Linked DNA regions of Homo sapiens: region 1 is linked to region 2. Evidence: promoter capture Hi-C in 16 types of primary human blood cells and fetal thymus (Javierre and others, 2016). All regions are on one chromosome and are shown on one strand. Each heading gives the region's core, a stretch centred on a gene start or on the middle of the fragment in contact. The rest is flanking DNA. Distances are from core to core; before and after follow the strand shown.

What was found. Contacts are between HindIII fragments. The CHiCAGO score rates a contact against its expected background, and 5 or more counts as called.
Region 1: a fragment that was not itself captured here is called in contact with the fragment with the promoter of SLC25A39 in region 2 in 1 of 17 cell types (naive CD8 T cells); the score reaches 5.6 in naive CD8 T cells.

Annotation. Positions count from the first base shown.
Region 1 is chr17:44,042,349-44,048,412 of GRCh38, reverse strand. The region is part of intron 2 of LSM12 (LSM12 homolog); the gene reads left to right. Among named protein-coding and RNA genes, the nearest start is that of LSM12, 21 kb to the left of the region's middle. The HindIII fragment of the contact is 3,208 bases long and covers 1,186-4,393 here.
Region 2 is chr17:44,323,072-44,328,773 of GRCh38, reverse strand. SLC25A39 (solute carrier family 25 member 39) reads left to right here and starts at 3,951. Exons shown (of 12, transcript NM_001143780.3): 1 at 3,951-4,063; 2 at 5,197-5,296; 3 at 5,431-5,490. The coding sequence starts at 5,212. LOC124904009 (a long non-coding RNA gene) reads right to left here and starts at 3,321. Exons shown (of 2, transcript XR_007065768.1): 1 at 3,153-3,321; 2 at 1,226-1,832. RefSeq lists enhancers at 2,869-2,918, 2,177-3,028, 3,099-3,158, 3,209-3,288, 3,449-3,638 and 1 more, a cis regulatory region at 1,527-2,204 and silencers at 3,739-4,168, 4,189-4,408. The HindIII fragment of the contact is 4,927 bases long and covers 280-5,206 here.

The DNA.
Region 1 (6,064 bases), core at 1,540-4,039, 280 kb after region 2:
CCTCCCGGGTTCAAGCAATTCCTCTGCCTCAGCCTCCCAAGTAGATGGGACTACAGGTGCATGTTACTGTGCCCGGCTAATTTTTGTAATTTTTGTAGAGATGGGGTTTCGCTATGTTGACCAGGCTGGTTTCGAACTCCTGGGCTCAAGTGATCTGCCTGCCTTGGCCTCCCAAAGTGCTGGGATTACAAGCATGAGCCACTGCTCTTGGCCTGGAAAAAATTTTTCTATGTTTTGCTGCATAAAGAAAATGAAAAGACAAGCCATAGACTGGGAGAAATAATTTGCAAAACATACATCTTACAGAGCACTTGTGTCCAGAATGTATAAAGAACTCTTTTTATTTGCGTGTGTGTGTGTGTGTGTGTGTGTGTGTGTGTGTGTGTGTGTGTGTTTAATACGGACACTGTCTATGTTGTCCACACTGGTCTTGAACCCCTGGCTCAAGTGATCGGCCTTCCTCAGCCTCCCAAAGTGCTAGGATTACAGGTGTGAGTGACCACGCCCAGCCAAGAACTCTTAATAAGGCAGCCCGGGCTTGGTGGTTTATGCTTGTAATTCCAGCACTTTGGGAGGCTGAGGTGGGAGGATGATTTGAGATCAGGAGTTTGAGACTAGCCTAGGGAACACAGGGAGACCCCATCGCTACATAAAATTAAAAAAAAAAAAACAGAACAAACAAACCTGCCAGGCATAGTGGTCCTTGCTTGTGGTTCCAGATGCTTGGGAGGCTGAGGTGGGAGGATTGCTTTAGCCAAGGAGGTCAAGGCTGCAGTGAGCCATGATTATGCCAGTACACTCCAGCCTGGGCAACAGAGCAAGACCTATCTCAAAAAAGAAAATAATAATGATAATAAGACAATCCAGGCTGGGCATGGTGGCTCATGCCTGTAATCCCAGCACTTTGGGAGGCCGAGGCAGGTGAATCACCTGAGGTCAGGAGTTTGAGACCAGCCTGGCCAACGTGGTGAAACCCTGTCTTTACTAAAAATACAAAAATTAGCTGGGCGTGGTGGTGTGGGCCTGTAGTCCTAGCTACTCTGGAGGCTGAGGCAGGAGAATTGCTTGAACCTGGGAGGCAGAGGTTGTGGTGAGCTGAGATGGTGCCACTGCACTCCAGTCTGGGTGACAGAGCAAGACTCCATCTCAAAAAAAAGACAGTCCAATTAAAAATGGGCAAAAGCTTTGAATACTGTATCAGAGAAGATACAGTAATTACAAATAAGCACATAAGATGCTTGATATCATTAGACATAAAGGGAAGTACAAGTGAAAACCACAGTGTGAAACTGCTATACTTCTGCTAAAATGGCTGAGATCAGAAAGGCTAACAGTACCCAGTGTTGGTGAGTAGGTGGCAGATTTAGAACTATCAAACATTAGGGCCGGGCGCTGTGGCTTACGCCTGTAATCCCAGCACTTTGGGAGGTCGAGGCGGGTGGATCACGAGGTCAGGAGTTCGAGACCAGCCTGGCCAACATAGTGAAACCCCATCTCTACTAAAAATACAAAAAATTAGCCAGGCGTGGTGGCGGGCGCCTGTAATCCCAGCTACTCGGGAGACTGAGGCAGGAGAATCACTTGAACCCCAGAGGCGGAGGTTGCAGTGAGCCAAGATCGCGCCATTGCACTCCAGCAAAAAAAAAAAAAAAAGAAAAAAAAAAAGAAAACAGTTTGACAGTTCCTTTTTTTTTTTTTTTTTTGAGACGGAGTCTGGCTCTGTTGCCCAGGCTGGAGTGCAGTGGCGCATTAATCTCAGCTCACTGCAAGCTCCGCCTCCTGAGTTCACGCCTTTCTCCTGCCTCAGCCTCCCGAGTAGCTAGGACTACAGGCGCCCGCCACCATCCCCGGCTGATTTTTTGCATTTTTAGTAGAGACGGGGTTTCACCGTGTTAGCCAGGATGGTCTCGATCTCCTGACCCCGTGATCCATCCGCCTCGGCCTCCCAAAGTGCTGGGATTGCAGGCGTGAGCCACTGCACCCGGCCATTTTGTTTTGTTTTTAAGGAAACTTCACTAGCAGGAAAACAATTACTTTAAAAATTAAACATACACTTACCATATGACCCAGAAATTCTACTCTTAGTTATCTACCTAACAAAAGTAAAAACATGTCCACACACAGAGACTTTTTACTTTTAAAAAGCAAAATCTTTTTACTTTTAAAAAGTAAAACGTTGGCTGGGCATGGTGACTCACACCTGTAATCCCAGCACTTTGGGAGGCCGAGGCGGGCGGATCATGAGGTCAGGAGATCAAGACCATCCTGGCTAACAGGGTGAAACCCTGTCTCTACTAAAAATACAAAAATTATCCGGGCGTGGTGGCGGGCGCCTGTAGTCCCAGCTACTCGGGAGGCTGAGGCAGGAGAATGGCGTGAACCCAGGAGGCGGAGCTTGCAGTGAGCCAAGATCGCGCCACTGCACTCCAACCTGGGAGACAGAGCGAGACTCCGTCTCAAAAAAAAAAAAAAAAAAGTAAAATATTTTTACTTTTACATACACAAAGACTTGTGTGTGACTGCTGCCAAAAACTGGAAACAGCCGGGTAGGGTGGCTCATGCCTGTAATCCCAGCACCTTAGGAGGCCAAGGTGGGTGGATCGTTTGAGCTCAGGAGTTCAAGACTATCCTGGGCAATACGGTGAAACCCTGTCTCTACAAAAAAATACAACACCTTAGCTGGGCGTGGTGGTGTGCTTCTGTGGTCCCAGCTACTTGGGAAGCTGAAGTGGGAGGATTGCTTGAGCCCAGTGGGTGGAGGTTGCAGTGGGCTGAGATTGTGCCATTACATTCCAGCCTGGGTGATAGAGTGAGACTCTGTTTCAGAAAACACAAAAAACAAAACTGGAAACAATTCAGATTTTGATCAACTGTCCATCAACTAGTGAATGAATATATAAAAGGTAGAACTGTATCCTCATAGTGGAATGCTTCCTAGCAATTTAAAAAACTATTGGTACATGAAACAAAATGGATGAACCTCAGAAATGTGCTAAGTGGAAGAAGCCAGAGACGTAAGTCAACACATTGTATCATTCCATTTATATGAAATATCTAGTAAAGGAAAAACTATAGAAATAGATTTAAGGCCAGGCATGGTGGCTTACGCTTGTAATCCCAGCACTTTGGGAGGCTGAGGCGGGCAGATCACGAGGTCAGGAGTTCGAGACCAGCCTGACCAACATGGTGAACCCCTGTCTCTACTAAAAATACAAAAATTAGCCAGGCGTGGTGGTGGGCACCTGTAATCCCAGCTACTTGGGAGGCTGAGGCAGGAGAATCCCTTGAACCTGGGAGGCGGAGGTTGCAGTGAGCTGAGATCGCACCACTGCACTCCAGCCTGGGCGACAGAGCAAGACTTTGTCTCAAAAAAAAAGAAATAGATTTTAAAAAGTAATCTTGGTGGCCCTCCCAAGCCTAAAAGGCACATTCTACACTTTCTCTACTGAGGGCAGCTTTTATTGGTTCTCTCCAGTGGTTTGGCAAAAACCATAAACTTACTAACTTGGAATAATTGGGCCATTTATAGGTATATAGTCATTTGCAAAAATATGTGGGAAAATTTAGATTTGTACAGCAGCTAAATTGAGGGTAGAGTGATAATCGTTTGCTTTACAAAAGAAGGCATATTCATGTTCTGCATGAGTTTTCATGACAAAAAAGGGCAAGGTAATCTCCTTCTCCCCACCCTCAATTTTGAAAAAAGGAAACACTTCTAGTTTCTTTTATTGAGAGCGGTCTCCCCCATTGATGGGGACCCCTAATTGATGGGGTCCTCTCTAGGAGATTTTATCCCATTTGTACAGCTTCCTGGTAAAAGCAGATCTGTGTAGCTGAGTCCGGATCCCTAAAGCATTACTGTAGGTTGAGTATATTGGGGGCAAACTGAAAATATATACAGTCAGCTTACAGTCATTTCTGCTGACTTTTCTAAGTGCTCCCTTACATCATTTAGCATTTGGGATGTTTGCATTAGAATTGAAATAGAGAATTGTCTAGTCCATTCTCCTTTGCTTTTGGAGACTTTAGGGGAGATTGCACTTGCACAACTGGTATTTTGGCGGGGGTGGGGGGTGTATTTTGAAATCATTGTTCTATAACCAGTGTGTCATTGTTACTCAGCCTGTCTAAAGAATCACTTCTGGCTGAGATTTATATCCATTTTATTTTCTCTCTGGCAAAAATTCAAGTGGCTCTTCTTCCAGCTTTTTTTTCTCCCCTTCTCTAGCTTAATTTGTCAGTTCCATTCTTAAACATTCTGCATAGATGCCTGGTTTCCTGAGCCAACTCTTGTCTCTTACTAAATGGGGTGATGTTATGTTTTTAAGCTGCTATGTAGGTGACAACGACATTTTACTCTTTGAACGTTCAGACTATCTAGTCAACACAAGCTTTATAGAAGCAGCTTTCTCTGACCCAGCATTCGGAGATGATTTGGATTTTCAGGAATAAACGTTTTTAAAGGGGATTGAGGTTTCAAAGTGAGATCTTCCAGCCTGCTTATAAGGTAAATGCCCGCCTGTCCACTAGATGCTTCCCAGGAGCTCTGCCACCCTCCAGTTTTTCCTTCTTTCCTTAAAGACTTCAGATTTTTTTTTTTTTTTTTAATAGAGGCAGGGTCCCACTATGTTGCCCAGGCTGGTCTGTAACTACTGGGCTCAAGTGATCTTCCTCCCTCAGCCTCCCAAAATGCTGGGATTACAGGCGTGAGCCACAGCGCTGGCCGACTTCAGATTTTCTTAAGGCATTGTTTGGAAAGCAAGATTCAAGGAAACTCCTCCTTAGGTTGCAGTGAGCTGAGATTGCACCACTGCACCAGCCTGGGCCACAGAGCAAGACTCCATCTCAAAAAAAAAAAAAAAAAGGAAACTCCTCCTTGTTACCGGGGTTTTTTTGGTGCTTGAGTAAGCGTTGCTTGTTGCTGCTTAAAATACATCATCAGCAGCTCTTTCCATAGAAACTACAAGGCTTTCTTGTTACAGTTGGGATTGCCACTGCTTGGAATGCTGTCAGCCTGTGTGTTTATTTGTCTGTAAAGTTATAGCCTGGTAGGGCCAGAATGGCAGCCAGTCTTGAAAGATTATATATATATTGCTGCTGTATTTGTCTCTCTCCATGTCCTAGAGATCCTGTGAAAAAGGAGCTCTGGCTTCAGATCACTGCAGGGTTTTGCCATTCTTCCCTCTCTTACCCGGGGAGGCTGAAATGACAGCGTGAGCTGGCCTTCTGTGCTCACGCCTGCTCCTCCTTCCTAAGACAGTCTTTGAAACTTGCAAGGACAAGAATACCCATGGCAATTGAAGGCCTCCTTTTTTTTCATAGTCAAACCTAAGCCTTGAGAAAGTGCTTAATTTTATAAACAAAGAATTAGACACTTGGTTTACTTCCTCTGCTATAAAACTATGCTTGGAGCCAGGCGTGGTGGCTCACGCCTGTAATACCAGCACTTTGGGAGGCTGAGGTGGGTGGATCACCTGAGCTCAGGAGTTCAAGACCGGCCTGGCCAACATGGTGAAATCCTGTCTCTACTAAAAATACAAAAAAATGGCCAGGTGTGGTAGCTCACGCCTGTAATCCTAGCACTTTGGGAGGCCCAGGTGGGTGGATCACGAGGTCAGGAGATCGAGACCATCCTGGCTAACACAGTGAAACCCCATCTCTACTAAAAAACTACAAAAAAATTAGCTGGGCGTGGTGGCAGGCGCCTGTAGTCCCAGCTACTCGGGAGGCTGAGGCAGGAGAATGACGTGAACCTGGGAGGTGGAGCTTGCAGTGAGCAGAGCTTGCGCCACTGCACTCCAGCCTGGGCGACAGAGCGAGACTCCGTCTCAAAAAAAAAAAAAAAATTAGCTGGGGGTGGTGGCGGGCACCTGTAATCCCAGCTACTCTGGAGGCTGAGACAGGAGAATCGCTTGAACCCAGGAGGCGGAGGTTGCAGTGAGCTGAGATCGTGCCATTGTACTCCAGCCTGGGCAACAAGAGTGAAACTCAATCCCAAGAAAAAAAGCTATGCTTAGTTTATGGTTTGATGGATCACTGTAAAAGCAGAATATAAATGTTTGAA
Region 2 (5,702 bases), core at 2,702-5,201:
GAAGGACCACTGGGTGCATAACCAATGTAAACCTTGCCTGAGTCAGCCAGGCCAGTGGCCACCTCTGCAGCCTTCCAGGCTTGCTCCTCGAGGGTGGGCGTGTTGAGTCAGGGCTCCATAGCTTCTGGAGCATGTCAAAGCTCCTCCTCCACCCTGAACTGCCACGGTCATTCTTGGGAGAGACTTCACGAGGTCCCGAGGTGTCCCATCACCCATGGATAACCTCTCCAGCGGCCACTGCTTTGGTCACACCCATGAGGCCTCATGGTTCTCTAAGCTTCAAAGCATTTACATTCTGGAGAAGGTAAGGACTGTGATCCACGCGGCTCTGGGCCCCTGGCAGGTCTCACAGAACTGTTTATTGACTCTTCATGTAGCTTTCAGAGACATGATATTAAGAATCTGTACGTTAGGCAGAGCAGGTGATATCGTCCTTATTTTCAGATGAGGAAACAGGTGTATCCACAAATCTCTAAGGATCCTATTTAAGAGCATCACAAAAAGAAAACCAGAAATGGAGTGCAAGGCCCTCAATGTACTGTTGGGGAAACAGGCTCAGAGGTCCCCAGGTTTGATTCCTGGCTGTGCTACTTTGCACTGGTGACCTTCGTTCTGGGTATAAGAAGTTATTATTATCCATCACTGCATACTGGAGGCAGAGGTGGGGCCAGAATCTGGGGAACTTTCCATGCCACAGGTTCTAGAGAGCAATTAACAACAATACAGTAACAGCAATAGTAGTAGTTGTCATAGAATGCTTGCCACTTGCCAGGGTTCTAAGCACGTCACAGCCATTAATGCATTAAATCCTTACATAATCCCTAGAGGAAGGTGCGTTATCATCACCATCAGCCCATTTTGTAAATGGGGAAACTAAGGCTTAGAGGCCTTAAGACACTTGCTTGTAAGAGGCAGGTGAGATGGAAAGCCAGGTCAGGGTGCTGCTGGAACACAGCACCTGGGTTGAGAACTGGACAGGGTGGGAGCCCATCTGGCTCAGGCACGTTGGGGGGTCTAATGCTGACTCTTTCATTTGAGTGACCTTGGGGCGATTTGACCTTTGGGGCCCCCCTTTTCTCATCCATAAAACGGGAGAGTGTGTGCAGGGAAAGTCTGGGTTCTCCTCCACACGAGTAAAGTCACTACACACAAGAGCCCTCAGTTTCCTCCCCTGTTCCGTAAACCAAAACGTCTAAGTTGTAAAGAACCTTGGCGGAGAGTAGGCTTTCACCTTGACCGATAGTTTATTTATTTATTTATTTATTTATTATTTTTTGAGACAGAGTCTCCCTCTGTCATCCAGGTTGGAGTGCAGTGGTGTGATCTCGGCTCACTGCAGCCTCGACCTCGCGGGCTCAAGCGATTCTCTGGCCTCAGCCTCCCAAGTAGCTGAGACTACAGGTGCGCACCACCACCGCTGGCTAATTTTTGTATTTTTAGTAGAGACGGGGCTTCGTCATGTTGGTCAGGCTGGTCTCGAACTCCTGTCCTCAGGTGATCCGCCCACCTCGGCCTCCCAAACTGCTGGGATTACAGGCGTGAGCCCGACCTTGACTGATAGTTGATTAAATTATTTCGTGTCATTTCTGAACTCAGCTTGAGATGGGAAGGGAATGGAAAGGACGCCTTCTCTCGGGCCCTTTTGCCCAGCGCCCCTTTACAGGTCACAGATTGCACTCTCCCTGCTCCCAAGCTGGAGTTTCAGAGCTGTGGGGGAGCTCAAAGGCATTTTGTCAGGGAAAGCTGATAGTTGGCCCCTCGGAGTCCACGTGCTAACCCGGCAGGCGCCGGCTGACTGGGCTCCTCCAGCGCCGGACGCGACCAGTGGGGGCCTGAAGGGCGGGGAAGGCAGAGACGTCAAAGTCGAGGCCTACCCTTCTTAAAGGCGCAGGCTAGGAGTACCCATCTCCCCGCCCGCCCCCCCCCGCCTCCACCCGCCCGCCCGCCCCCCTCCGCCACCGCCCGCGCGTGCTGGTTTCTCTGTTAGGACAAATAAGCAAGATAGCACAGAAGTTCTAAACGCGAAGTGGGTGGTGGGGCCTGGGGTACGGGGCTGCCCCGGGAAATAAAGTGTCTCCCTGACAAGCGGGATCGGAGAGGGCAGCGCTGGACTTAAGCCTTCCTGTCTCCCGGGGAGGCAGTGTGGAGCCCTGGGAAAAGCACCCGGCCGGTTCGAATCTCCGGCTCTTCACGTCGAGCCTCAGTTTCACTTTCTGTAAAACGGGGTAATCTATTTCTTTTTCAGACGGAGTTTCGCTCTTGTTGCCCAGGCTGGAGTGCAATGGCGCAGTCTCGGCTCACCGCAACCTCCGCCTTCCGGGTTTAAGCGATTCTCCTGCCTCAGCCTCTCGAGTGGCTGGGATTACTGGCATGCGCCACCACGCCCGGCTAATTTTTTGTATTTTTAGTAGAGACGAGGTTTCACCATGTTGGTCAGGCTGCTCTCGAACTCCTGACCTCTGGTGATCCGCCCGCCTCGGCCTCCAAAAAGGCTGGGATTACAGGCGTAAGCCACTGCGCCCGGCCTTTTTTTTTGAGACGGAGTGTTACTCTGTTGCCCAGGCTGGAATGCAGTGGTGCGATCTCGGCTCACTGCAACCTCCGCCGGCCGGGTTCAAGCGATTCTCCTGCCTCAGCCTCCCGAGTAGCTGGGATTACAGGCGCCAGCCATCATGCCCGGCTACTTTTGTATTTTTAGTAGAGACGGGGTTTCACCATGTTGGCCAGGCTGGTCTCGAACTCCTGACTTCAAGTGATCCGCCCGCCTCGGCCTCCTAAAGTGCTGGATTACAGGCGTGAGCCACCGCGCCCGGCCTGTGGTAATCTATTTCAACAATAACCTACTGCAAAGAGTTTTGAGACTCAGAAGAAATCACGATACGAGAGCAACCAACACCAAAACGTCGATGCCCTCCCGCACTCAGTGCTCTTCCTCTCCGCGCAGAGTCATTCCGGGCCTTAGGCGAGGTTGTGATTTGCCCAAGGTCACGCGAAGGTGGGATCTGGCTCCCCATGGCTCTCCCGTCTCCCCCGGCTTGCTCACGTCCCAGCCCGCCCGGCCCGGGCTGCAGCTCAGCTAACCCAGTGGCGCACACCCGCGCGGGGCCCTGTGGTTTACAAAGCGTTTTGCAGTTGCAGGCCTGTCCTGTAACCTGAAAAATGGGGGCGATGCTAAGGCCGGCGAGAGAAGTCGCCGCGAAGTTTTCAAGTCTCGGCGGGTAGCCCGGCAAGTAACTTCGTCGTTATTGTGTGGTCTCCCGGCGATCTCGAAGAACTCATTCTCACTGCCGCCGCCACGCACCTGAGGACACCGAGGAAGAGGGCCAGTGCGTCACCCTCGCCGTCCAGAAGGCGCTGGGGTTTCCAGTGCCGCGCGCGGCCGGGGCGGGGCTGGTGAAAATGCGCTGTTAAGGCCGGCGCGGCGGCTCACGCCTGGAATCCCAGCACTTTCGAAGACCGAGGTGGGCGGATCGCTTGAGCCCAGGAGTTCCAGACTAGCCTGGGCAAAATAGGGAGACAAAAATAAAAGTAACAAACCAGCCGGGCGTGGCGGCGCGCGCCTGTGGTCCCAGCTACTCCGGAGGCTGAGGCAGGAGGATCGCTTGAACCCGGGAGGTCAAGGCTGCAGTGAGCCTAGATCGCGCCACTGCCCTCCAGCCTCGGCGACAGAGCGAGGCTGAAAAAGATGCTGTCTAAAAAAAGATGCTGGAAGTGCGTGCTGCTGCCACGTTAAGCGCGACGTGGAGACCGCGAAGTTGGCCGGCAGCTCTCAGCGCTGGACAGGCATGGAACTCGCCCGCGCGGCCCCGTCAAGGGGGCGGGACCGTCGCAGGTCCGGGCGGAGACGCGAGTGGGCGGAGCCGGGGACACTCCGGGCTTGCGGCTGGTCGGCCCGCGGCGGGCGGGGCCTCGTGGCGCGGTGTAGGGGCGGGGCCCCCTTGGCTGCTTTCGGCGTCGGCCTAGGTGCGCTGCGAGCGCGCGCGGACCGCGCACAGGCGGCGGAGCCGGTATGGGCCCGCCTGACCCTGGGCGCCGCGCCGCACGAGCACCAGCCTAGAGCCAGGTAGGCGGCACTGGGCCGGGGCTGGGGGCGGAGACGGAAGCGGGGGTCTCCGGGCGGCCGTGCGAGCCAGGGCAGGTGCTGGGGCCGTCGAGCTGGCGTGGTCCCCCTCACCTGGCGGCTCTCCGCCGTTCGGGGCCGGGAGTGTCGCCGAGGGTCGGGGAGACGTCCTGGTCCTACGTTCCTACTTCCCGCTCTCCCGGCTGCGCCCCGGGCCTGCATTTTGGGGCGGGAACCCAGAGACTGCTCTTTCTCTCCGGGCCCCGGGTCTGGCCCGTCCGGCCGGGCGGGGAGGGCCGGGCATCCCAGCCCGCAGTCCTGAGGAGGCGACGGGCCCTTCTTGGTCACCGGATCTGTTTACACGTCACCCTCGATGCCCGGCCGTCCCTCCACGCCCAGTAACTTGGGCTCTCAGGTGCCTGCCCGGGGCCTTGGTGCTGGAGTGGGGGCTGTGGGGGCAGCACAGGTACTCTGATTTTGGGGCCACGAGGGCCAAATCCGCGCCTGCACGTAGGAGGTGCGCAGTGGACACGTGCGAGGTGGACGAGGGAAGGACCCTGGCTCCTACTGCATTCGAGCGATAGGTCTGGCACCCTAGCTTCCTTCGGAACCACTCCTGAGTGACCTTGGGCAGGCCACCTCGTCTCCCCGAGCCTTAGTTTTCCCCGGCGGAGGGGGGCGGACAGTCCCTGCTTTAGAGGTCATTGCCAGGGTTGTTGAGGCAACAGATGTTTCGAGGGCGGTGGATGAGGGTTGGGTTAAAGTCTCACAGTGGGCCGGGTGCGGTGGCTCACGCCTGTAATCCCAGTGCTTTGGGAGGCTGAGGCGGGCGGATCACGAGGTCAGGAGATCGAGATCATCTTGGCCAACATGGTGAAACCCTGTCTCTACTAAAAATGCAAAAATTAACTAGGCGTGGTGGTGCGCGCCTGTAGTCCCAGCTACTTGGGAGGCTGAAGCAAGAGAACCGCTTGAACGGGGGTGGATGTTGCAGTGAGCCAAGATGGTGCCACTGCACTCCAGCCTGGCAACAGTGCGCAGAGCGAGACGCCGTCTCAAAACAAAAGTCTCACAGTGGCCCAGCCTCCTTTCCTGCCATCCCTGGAGTTGTGGTCTGTTTGAGGTTTGGTTTTCAGGACTGAAGCTTCAAGATGGCTGACCAGGACCCTGCGGGCATCAGCCCCCTCCAGCAAATGGTGGCCTCAGGCACCGGGGCTGTGGTTACCTCTCTCTTCAGTAAGACCTAGGGGAGGTGGGGTGGGGGCGGGTGGGGATGGGGCAGACCGGAGATTGGAGGCTGTGTGGTCCTGGGGGAGGAGTCCTAGGGGTGGGGTCCTGAAAGGAGCCTTCAGACCCGCTTCCTCCCCCAGTGACACCCCTGGACGTGGTGAAGGTTCGCCTGCAGTCTCAGCGGCCCTCCATGGCCAGCGGTGAGTACCTGACCTGGAACTAGTGAGGGGTGGTGCCTGGGCAAAAGAAAGATCTCCCAGAGGCTGGCCGTGGTTTCTCATACCTGTAATCCCAGCGCTTTGGGAGGCTGAGGTGGGTGGATCACCTGAGATCAGGAGTTCAAGGCCAGCCTGGCCAACGTGGTGAAACTCTCTCACTACTAAAACTACAAAAATTAGCCGGGCTTGGTGGC